Linked DNA regions of Homo sapiens: regions 1 and 2 are each linked to region 3. The links are contacts of gene promoters, found by promoter capture Hi-C in human tissues and cell types (Jung and others, 2019). All regions are on one chromosome and are shown on one strand. Each heading gives the region's core, a stretch centred on a gene start or on the middle of the fragment in contact. The rest is flanking DNA. Distances are from core to core; before and after follow the strand shown.

Evidence for each region. Contacts are between HindIII fragments. The study calls those that stand out against the background at their distance.
Region 1: a fragment that was not itself captured here is called in contact with the fragment with the promoter of FKBP1C in region 3 in 2 of the 25 tissues and cell types used here (adrenal gland and thymus).
Region 2: a fragment that was not itself captured here is called in contact with the fragment with the promoter of FKBP1C in region 3 in 7 of the 25 tissues and cell types used here (H1 embryonic stem cells, dorsolateral prefrontal cortex, lymphoblastoid cells and 4 more).

Annotation. Positions count from the first base shown.
Region 1 is chr6:63,082,904-63,086,532 of GRCh38, forward strand. No RefSeq gene overlaps it. Among named protein-coding and RNA genes, the nearest start is that of FKBP1C, 130 kb to the right of the region's middle. RefSeq lists a silencer at 3,410-3,616. The HindIII fragment of the contact is 4,926 bases long and covers 1-3,629 here.
Region 2 is chr6:63,129,996-63,133,472 of GRCh38, forward strand. No RefSeq gene overlaps it. Among named protein-coding and RNA genes, the nearest start is that of FKBP1C, 80 kb to the right of the region's middle. The HindIII fragment of the contact is 6,731 bases long and covers 1-3,477 here.
Region 3 is chr6:63,209,364-63,213,265 of GRCh38, forward strand. It overlaps FKBP1C (FKBP prolyl isomerase family member 1C), which reads left to right and starts at 2,106. Exons shown (of 1, transcript NM_001395980.1): 1 at 2,106-3,664. The coding sequence starts at 2,194. The coding sequence ends at 2,520. The HindIII fragment of the contact is 10,095 bases long and covers 1-3,902 here.

The DNA of each region.
Region 1 (3,629 bases), core at 1,128-3,627, 130 kb before region 3:
CATGAACCATTCTGCTTCCTCTGGTATTTCAGGGAGCAGAGTATAGGGGTTAGGTATAACTGGATATAGAGGAATTACTGTCTCATTGAAGAGTCTAAGATCTTGCACTAGTCAACTGACCGTTCAGTTTTTGTACCCTAGAATTGGGGTGTTGCAGGGACTGCTGCATTTTCTTACTAAGCCTTGAGCTTTTAAATGTCTAACAATACCCTGTAATCCTTTATGAGCTTCAGGCTTTAAGGGATATTGCCTTTGATAAGGAAAAGTGGTGGGGTCTTTTATTCTGATTTGGACTGGGTGGACACTTTTTTTCCCTTCTGAATTGTCCTTCCAGTGCCCAGACTTCAGGGTTGATTCCCTCCTCAAGCAGGAGACAACAAATGGGTAACTTGTTCCCCATATTCATGCAGATAATAGCTCCAGCTTTGGCTAATATGTCCCTCCCTAATAAGGGTGTGGGACTTTCAAGCATAACAAGAAAGGCATGTGAAAAGAGCAAAGTCTCCCAGTTACAACTAAGGAGGTGGGAGAAATACCTGGTTACAGGCTGTCCCAGGATTCCGTGGATGGTAATGGACCTACAGGACAGCTGTCAGGAACAGGAGACTAACACTGAGAAAGCCATGCCAGTGTCCAGGAAGAAGTCAATTTCCTGGCCCTCATTGGTTAAATGTACCAGGGCTCAGTGAGGGTGAGGACATGAGTTGGTGCTTGCCCCAGGCACCCTCAGTTCTGTTGTTGGATCATCTGGTTGGGGCTTCTGGCCCAGAGAACCTTTGACCTCTGGGGCAGTGTGCCTTCCAGTGATTGCCTCGGTATAGTGGACATGGATGAGGGGTCAGCTTGCTTATCATTGGACAATCTTTTTTAAAGTGTCATTGCAAACCACACTGATAACAAGCCCCACCAGGTGGTTGGCCTGCTCCATTCTCTGTCCTCTTTGAGCCACCAAGGTTTGTTTGTCTGAGGACCATGAATAAGGCTGCAGCCTTTCTCTGATATTGTTTTCTTTTTGGCCTATTCTTCTTGGTCCCTACTATAGAACACTGAGGTTGCCAGGTTTAATAATGCCTCCAGATTTTGTTCATGGCCCAGGACTCACTTTTGGAGCTTTCTCCTGATATCTGTGGCTGACTGGGTAATAAACTTACCTTTTAGGATCAATTGACCTTTGAGGGAGTCAGGTGTCAGGGGAGTATATTTTCTTAGGGCCCCCCATAGCTGCTCAAGGAAGGCGGAAAGATTTTCTTCCTTTCCCTGAGTTATGGTGGACATCATTGACTAATTCATGGGCTTTTTCATAATTCTCCTTAGTCCTTCTAGAACAAAAGTCAACATATGTTTATGACTCTAGTCCCCATGATCCGAGTCTAGGTCCCAGTGGGGATTCATACTGCAGATGGCTTGCTGACTGGTAGGGAATTTGTCCCTTTCTTTGGCTGTAATTCTATCATTTACTTGACTAAGATATCAAATATCTCCAAGCTCTCAGGCTGCAGCTAAAGTCACATTCTTTTCATTAAAGGCCAGGGTTTGATCTAACAATATCATGACATCTCTCCAAATGAGGTCAAAGGTTTGCCCTAGACCCTGTAGGATATCTATGTACCTATCAGGATCATCTGAAAACTTCCCCAGGTCTGCCTTGATCTGCTTTAAATCAGAGAGGGAGAAGGGGACATGTACCTGGGTTGGGCCAAATTCCCCTCCCCCTACAGCTTGAAGGGGACATAACCAATAGCCCAGGGGTTTTTGTGGTCCCTTGGAGATTTATTTGCTTGTTTCCTTCTGGGTGGGGAGACTAGAGGAGCCTTATCATTAATAGGAAGGGGATCTGTAAGGAGGCTAGGATATGGAGGTAAGTTGAGAGTTCCTCCTGTGGGATGTAAATTGCAAGTTTGCATAGTTGTGGATTATCCTTCAATAAAAGAAAGCTTGGACATGAGGTATTTCACTCCATTTGCCTTCCCACTTACAGAAAAGGTTAAGCTGCAGGATAGTATTGTAATTTATACTTCCCTCAGGCGACCATTTTTTCACATCAGAGAGAATATTGGGGCCAGGACGTAGTGCAGAGAAAAATGAGCCATATCTTTTTCAGAGTTTGTGGGTCAAATTGGTCCCAATGGCTTAGGATGCATTTCAAGGGTGAGCCTGTTGATGCCTGAGTGTTTCCCATCTGAAAGAAAAAACTGCCCACCATTTTGGTTTGTTTGTCTCCCCCTCACTGGCCCTAGAACCCACAATGGTCCCTGGACCCTGCTATTCAGAATAGTTGTGCTCACTGAAGCAGCAGCAGAAACACTGGTTTTCCTCGTAGACCACAAAGAGGACCAAGGAAGGTGGGATTTAGTGGCCCTTACCGACACATTCTCAAAAATCTGCACCCTTGCCTTTCCTCTCAGACCACAAAGAGGACCAAGAAAAATCAGATTTAGTGGTCCTTACCAACACATTCTCAAAAACCTATTAGAGTCCCAAGCATTTTCTCCTGTTAGTATTGGGACCTTACCTCTGTCCTATAAAGATGATATGCCCCAAAAATGGAGTGGAGGGCCACACCCTAAGGGAGGGAAGGGATCTCCAGGATCCCTTCAGGATTCCAAGGGATCTTCCCTTGGAAGAGTGACACCTTTTGTCCTCACTTCTCATCACATGAATAGGAAGGATATCATTTCTGAGGCTCCCCATATCCTAGCTTCAGAAATAGCCTTTGTTAGGCCTGCTAGTCTGAGGAGGGATCCTAAAATTCCAGATAGTCTCCCCCAACTCCCAGTGGGGCTTTGGGCAAAAACTAAGTCTTTCTGATTGGTGAGCCTGGGTGCCTAAAGAAAGGAATAGAGTCCCAAAATTTATACTAGAAATCATTCTTATAGGAGAAACTAGAAAAGCACCAGAGACAGGGAGTGGTTTTTAGAAGCGGGACTAGCCTCGGAAAAGAGAGGCAGGAGGAAATTTGTCTGAAAAGCATTAGGACCCAGGAGGCAAGGGTCAAGTTAGATAGGATAGATGGGCAAGTCTTGCTTAGATGACTTGACTTTGAGAGCTCTGCTCATGGCTATAGGGTCAACCAACATTTTATCAGGACCCTGGAGCTGAATGGCTTTCCTTTCTGTTGACACTCAGTTCAGCCCAGAAGTACAGGAAAAGTTTAAGCTGTTTCCAGGCAAACCAATGCTACCAACTCCGAAGAGTCAGGAATAGTTAGAGAGCTCTTTCCCAGAAAGCCTGACACCCATGTCTTTAGTCCTGCAGCCATGCTAGTCATTTTTAGCCGGCTGATAGGTGCCCGGTGTTTAGCCCCCAAATTCTGAGGAAAAATAGGAGAAAATAGCAAGCAAAATGGGTCCAATTGTACTCACCACTTGGAAATATTCCAGATGAGCCCCCAAGATGTGTCTGGAGTTGGTTCCTTCTGGTGGGTTCGTGGTCTCACTGACTTCAAGAATGGAGCCATGGACCTTTGCAGTGAGTGTTACAGCTCTTAAAGATGGCATGGACCTGAAGAGTGAGCAGCAGCAAGATTTATTGTGAAGAGCTAAAGAACAAAGCTTCCATAGTGTGGAAGGGGACAAGAGGGTTGCCACTGCTGGCTGGGGTGGCCAGCTTTTATTCCCTTATTTGTCCCT
Region 2 (3,477 bases), core at 95-2,594, 80 kb before region 3:
TTGCATTTCTCCGTGTCCTTGATTTCCAGACATTGTGATTTTTTTATTTATGCTCTCTATTTCACTGAATAATTTTCCTTTTATATCCTATATCATGTTTTTTATTTATTTAAGTTGAACTTCCCTTTCTCTTGTGCCTCCTTGATTAGCATAATAATCAACCTTCTGAAATCCTTTTCTGTCAATTCAGTGATTTTGTCTTGGCTTAGATCCATTGCTGGTGTGATCTTTTGGGGGTGTTAAATAACCTTGTTTTGTCATATTACCAGAATTGCTTTTCTGGTTTCTTCTCATTTGGGTAGACTAGGTCACAAGGAAGAGCTGGGACTCAAGGGCTGCTGTTCAAATTCTTTTGTCCCATGGGGTGCTCCCTTGATGTGTTCTCCCTCTTCCCCTAAGGATGGAGCTTCCTGAGGGCCAAACTACAGTGATTGTTTTTGCTCCTCTAGCCACCCAGCAGAGCTACCGGCCTCCAGGCTGGTACTGGAAATTATCTTCAAAGAGTCCCGTGATGTGATCTGTCTTCAAATCTTGCAGCCATGGATACCAGCACCTGTTCCAGTGGAGGCAGCTGGGTAGTAAAGTGGAATCCGTGAGGGTCCTTGGTTGTATTTTTTTGTTTAGTATGCTGGTTTTGTGTTGGTTGGTCACTAGCCAGGAGGTGGTGCTTTCAAGAGCCCATCAGGTGTGGTACTATAAGGAGGATGCAAACTTGCCCTAGGGTCAACTGGTTAAGTATTCAGATTTCTCAGGTGGTGGGAAGAGCCACGGACCTCCCAAGAAATGATGTCCTTTGTCTTCAGCAAACAAGGTGGGTGGAGAAAGAATACCAGGTGGAAGCAGAGATAGGCATGTCTGAGCCCAGACTTTCCTTGGGCAGGGCTTGCTGCAGCTGCTGTGGGGGCTGGGGGTATAATTCCCAAGCTAATGGAGTTATATTCCCATGGGTATTACATTTTCAATAAAGTTCATTTATCTTACATAAGGCCAAAGTTATATATTTATAAAATTAGTTCTTACCAAAAAAAATCAACCCAGTAGGGTATGACGATTCATAATTTTTCAAAGTAGCAACTATTAAAGCTAATGGTTTGTGAGAGAAAAACTGCAGAAACACTTGTTTAGAAGGTCAACTATTCTTAAGACACAACTGTTTTTACATTCAGAAAACTAAGGTATTAATTCCTATTATCTACATTTTTTAATATAATTTTAAAATAATCACTTCAAATTAGCCGTATCTAAGCAACCATCTCTTTCTTCTTCTCATAACCCTAAATATTACCAAATAAAACTACAGTTTTCATTAATAGTGGCATTAAAGTATGATATTAATGGTGTGATAAACATAACCATGATTGTTTCCAATTTCTTCATGGCCATTTGGGCATGCCCAGTTTTACACCTTTAATAAAGCACACAATACATGTGCATTTCAATTAAAGAATTTAATATCTATTCCAACTTTATGTCTTGAGACAAAAAATAACAAAATAAAATTATGGAAAATATGAGGTAGTTTGTTTTTAAATGATCAATTTTTTTTCACAGATTATGTCAATAGGAGAGTAAATTCATTATATTGGCTTAAATCATTATTTTTTCAGTGAAATCAGCCAAATTGAGTTGTTTTGATATGGCCATGAAATAAATTTTTCACACTAAAGTTTAAAAAGCACTGCATTAATTTTCTCTAATTTAAAGGGAAATAAACAATAACACATAAAACAAGCTTAGTTTATATAAAATATATAAATACATGCTGTATTTTTTTGCTAGAGCTGCCACAACAAACTGTCACAAACTGGTTGGCCTCAACAACAGAGATATATTGTGTCACAGTTGTGGAGGATAGAAGTTCAAGATTAAAATATGTCAGCAGGGTTGGTTCCCTCTGAGTACTGTGAGGGAAAATCTGTTCTGTGTCTCTCTCCTAACTTATGATAGTTTTCTGATCGTTTCTGGCATTCCATATCTTAAAGATTTATTACTCTGTTCTCTGCTTTTATTTCACATGTTGGTTTCCTTCTGTTTATATTTATGAGTACAAATTTCCTAGGGAAACCAGTTGTTTTAAATGAGACCCCACTCTAATGACTTCATTTTAACTTGATAACCTCATTTAACTTGATTGCCTCTGTAAAGGCCCTATTTTCAAATAAGGTGCCTTAGTCAGGGTTCTCTAGAGGGACAGAACTAATATATGTATTATATGTGTGTTTGTGTATGTATATAATATACTATTGTACTAATAGTATATATATATATACTTTATATATAGACAGAGTATATGTATAATGTGTGTGTGTGTATATATATGTATATATACACACACATATATGTGTGTATATATATGGGGGAGTTTATTAAATATTAACACACATGTTCACAAGGTCCCACAATAGGCAGTCTGCAAGCTGAGAAACAAGTAGAGCCAATCCGAGTCCTAGAACTGAAGAACTTAAAGTCTGATGTTCGAAGGCAGGAAGCATCCAGCATGGGACAAAGATGTAGGCTGGAAGGCTAGGCCAGTCTAGACCTTTCACTTTTTTCTTCCTGCTTTTTATATTCTAACCACATTGTCAGCTGATTAGATGGTGCCCACCCAGATTAAGGGTGGGTCTTCCTTTCCCACCTCACTGACTCAAATGTTAATCTCCTTTGGCAACACCCTCACAGACACACCCAGGAGCAATACTTTGTACCCTTCAATCTAACAAGTTGACACTCAGTATTAACCATCACAAGTCCACCCCTTGTCAACTTGAACCCATACACATCTCCTGAGATCATACATAGTCTTCAAATAAAGACAATAATAAGGTTATAATTATGCCTAACATAATGCAGCTATCCTTGGTACAACCAGAAATGCATCAATCCCCAACCGAAATACTATTATATAAAGTTAACAACACTTAAGTATTGATATGAAGTCAATAAATCTTATGTCATATGATAAAGAAAAAAATAAAATGAAGATATTTTCTTAGTACAAGTGTATGTATTCACAAACACGTTTTTAACAAAAGAAGGAGGAAATACTCATGACAATTACAGTCCTCATTTTTGCAGCTGGTCACGTGGTCATAGCTGGTATTGATGACTACCTTATTCTACTACCCATTCTGTATTGTCTTTGCCTTCAGCAAGCACCTCAGCAGGTCATGTTTTTTACTTGGTGGAGTGAACCAAACCTTCATTCCTGAAGAGTCTGGGCCATTTGTAATCCTGCCTGGATTGGGCTATTGTAGTTTCCCTTTGACCTTAATCACAAAGTATGATTAATACTAAGAAACACTCTAATGGGTCTTCTGTATTCCATGTGTACTCTTCCTTACTTCCACTGTGGAGTAGTAGACTGATTTCATCATGATAGTTCGGGTCAATCACCCCAGCCAACACTGTAACTCCCTTCTTAGCCTGTTGACTTAAAGGTAGGAGGAGCCCAAAGTGTCCAGATGGCAACCTTAACTT
Region 3 (3,902 bases), core at 856-3,355:
AATATCAGTTTTGTATTATTAGTCAATTTAATTATTAATAATTGTGTCTTTGCTAAGATAACCCTGGATACAGATAAAATAACTCTCCACATCTTGAATTTTCTGTCAGAAAAACAACATACCTTAAGAATCATATTGTTCAAAATCCCAAGTTTTCAGGTAATAAGTACTATTGGCGTTATTGGTAAATAACCCAAATAAATTCCCAGTTGATATGCCTTCCTTCTGATTACATTTTGGAGAGCAGTTAATTCTTCAAAGAAGGAAACTTAACGAGACATTGTGTGTGTAATGGAAATGTGATGTACATGAGTTTATGCTTACAAAATAATCAATAACTACAATGTAAAATCAGCACTCAATCCTTGTAAGACCACAGTATGAAAATTTCTACTTTCCTTCAAAAAGGGTTTGTAAATGATTTTAAAAGAAGAAACAGCAGCCTCGACTCTTAGAAAACTTAACTAGATAAATTTGCACATTACAAGTCTTAAAACTAGAAACCATATTATTAACTGTGAAACTATATAATTAGTTTCTTTGTGAGCTTTCAATTTTTTGCTAGATAAAATTAAAACTGCCACCAAAAAATGAGGCCATTATGAACATGACAGGTCATTTGTTGAGAAAAGGGTTATGTAGAAATAGCATCTGATAATTTGTTGGAAATATTAGCATATAGATGGCTATGAAATGTGTGAAGTATTATCAGAAGAATTCTAATAAAAAATTTTTGCAGTGTAAGTCGACTATGGTTCTATTTCAAATGTAGTTAGGTTCTTAGCCCTAATGGCAAGCAGAGGCTACACTAAATGTATTTAACCTAAAGACAAGTTGATAAGAAATTTATAATTCCACTGTTTTTTAAAAATTACAAAAGTAAAAGGTATATACACATAACATCTACAGCAACAAAGAATGCAAAAACATTCTTTTCACATAGAAAGAGTTAAATATACATGCTTTCAAGAACAATAGCAGCTTCTCTTAAACTTTCTTAACTTACCTAGTGTTTTCTATCACTAAAAAAGCTGTATGTAAATCATTAAGTTTAGACTACTGAATCTATATCGTTCTTTGTAAACCAGACTCAAAGCATATTTCTTTCTAAGTTAACATGAACATAATAGAACACACAGAAAGAAAAATATAACTGTGAGTTTATATGCAAAGTACTGGACAACTTTCAAATATATACATCCTTCCTTTTTTCTTTAAAATATCTCTCTACACTGATACTTCTGGCAGAAACCTGACAATAGTGGCTACGCTAATCGTAGCATACTATTTAGATGGACAACAGTTAATTCATTTGAGCAAAAGTTTTAGAGATCTGTTTTAGACCTTTAAATCAAACTCCAGATATATACAATAGTATCCCTTATCCACAGTTTTGCTTTCTGCAGTTTCAGTTACCCATGGTCAATAGTGGTCTGCAAATATTAAATTGAAAGCTTCAGAAATAAACAATTCATAAGTTTTAAATTGCACACCATTCTGAGTAGTGTGAAGAAATCTCGAGCCATCCCGTTCCACTCTCACCTGACTGAGACGTGAATTATCCCATTGTCCACCATCTCCACACTGTATACCCTCCCTGTCTGTTAGTCACTCAGTAGCTGTCTTGGTTATCAGATCAATTGTAAGGTAGCTCAGAGCTTGTGTTTAATATGTACCCCTTATTTTACTTCATAATGGCCTCAAAGTGCAAGAGTAATGATGCTTTTATATTGTTATAACTGTTCTATTTTATTATTAGTCATTGTTTTTAGTCTCTTGCTGTGCCTAATTTATAAATTAAATTTTATCATAGGTATGTATGTACAGGAAAAAATATAGTATATATAGGGTTCTGTACTATCTGTGGTTCTGTGGTTTCAGGCACCCACTGGGGATCTTGGAACGTAGCCGCCACAGATAATGGGAGACCAAACACAAAGTTAACAAAGTTAACAAGGAAATGGTAACACTTCCAGTACGGGAAAAAAAAAAAAAAACCTATTTAGAGATTTTTAAGTGACTCATTCAACACACTTGCCCAGAAGGCACTAATATAGAATTTGTAGATTTTAAAAATACAGTATGGGCAGGCAACGCGCTGAGGGACTAGGCAGAGCCGTGGAACCGCCGCCAGGTCGCTGTCGGTCCACGCCGCCCGTCGCGCTGCCCGCCCGCTCGGCGTCGGCCGCCGCCATGGGAGTGCACGTGGAAACCATCTCCCCAGGAGACTGGCGCACCTTCCCGAAGCGCAGCCAGACCTGCGTGATGCACTACACCGGGATGCTTGAAGATGGAAAGAAATTTGATTCCTCCCGGGACAGAAACAAGCCCTTTAAGTTTATGCTAGGCAAGCAGGAGGTGATCCGAGGCTGGGAAGAAGGGGTTGTCCAGATGAGTGTGGGTCAGAGAGCCAAACTGACTATATCTCCAGATTATGCCTATGGTGCCACTGGGCACCCAGGCATCATCCCACCACATGCCACTCTCGTCTTCGATGTGGAGCTTCTAAAACTGGAATGACAGGAATGGCCTCCTCCCTTAGCTCCCTGTTCTTGGATCTGCCATGGAGGGATCTGGTGCCTCCAGACGTGTGCACATAAATCCATATGGAGCTTTTCCTGATGTTCCACTCCACTTTGTATAGACATCTGCCCCAACTGAATGTGTTCTGTCACTCAGCTTTGCTTCCGACACCTCTGTTTCCTCTTCCCCTTTCTCCTGGTATGTGCGTTTACCTAAACTATATGCCATAAACGTCAAGTTATTCATTTTACTTTTTCATTTTGGGGTGAAGATTCAGTTTCAGTCTTTTGAATATAGGTTTCCAATTAAGTACATGGTCAAGTGTTAACAGCACAAGTGATAAGTTAACGTTAGGATAGGAATTGGTGTTGAGGGGGTTGCAAGAATATTTTATTTTAATTTTTTGGATGAAATTTTTATCTATTATATATTAAACATTCTTGCTGCTGCGCTGCAAAACCATAGCAGATTTGAGGCACTGTTGAGGACTGAATTATTCTCCAAGTTGAGAGATGTCCTTGGGTTAAATTAAAAGCCCTACCTAAAACTGAGGTGGGGATGGGGAGAGGCTTTGCCTCCACCATTCCCACCCCACCCTCCCCTTAAACCCTCTGCCTTTGAAAGCAGGTCATGTTCACTGCGATGCTGGACACTACAGGTATCTGTCCCTGGGCCAGCAGGGACCTCTGAAGCCTTCTTTGTGGCCTTATTTTTTTTTTTTTTTTTTTCATCCTGTGGTTTTTCTAACGGACTTTCAGGAATTTTGTAATCTCATAACTTTCCAAGCTCCACCACTTCCTAAATCTTAAGAACTTTAATTGACAGTTTCAATTGAAGGTGCTGTTTGTAGACTTAACACCCAGTGAAAGCCCAGCCATCATGACAAATCCTTGAATGTTCTCTTAAGAAAATGATGCTGGTCATCCCAGCTTCAGCATCTCCTGTTTTTTGATGCTTGGCTCCCTCTGCTGATCTCAGAGTTTCCTGGCTTTTCCTCCCTCAGCCACTTCTCACCCCTTTGCTGTCCTGTGTAGTGATTTGGTGAGAGGAATCGTTGCTGCCCCCTTCCCCTAGCACCATATATGAGTCTCAAGTTTTATTATTGCAATAAAAGTGCTTTATGCTGGCTTTTCTCAAAAAATAAATAAATAAATAAATAAATAAAATAAAAATACAGTATGCACCTGTTCACCAAAAATCTATGGAAATAAAAAAATTAAATAAATAACTAAATATAAATAAAAATATGGTATGGAACCAGCCTAATTACTCATAGAACTGCTGTTTATGGTTTCTTTTGAATAAACATAAAAATTGAGACTCCCATCTTAAAACTTGAGAAAGTTACATTTGTCTTATCTGGGTTCCTTTCTCAGGAA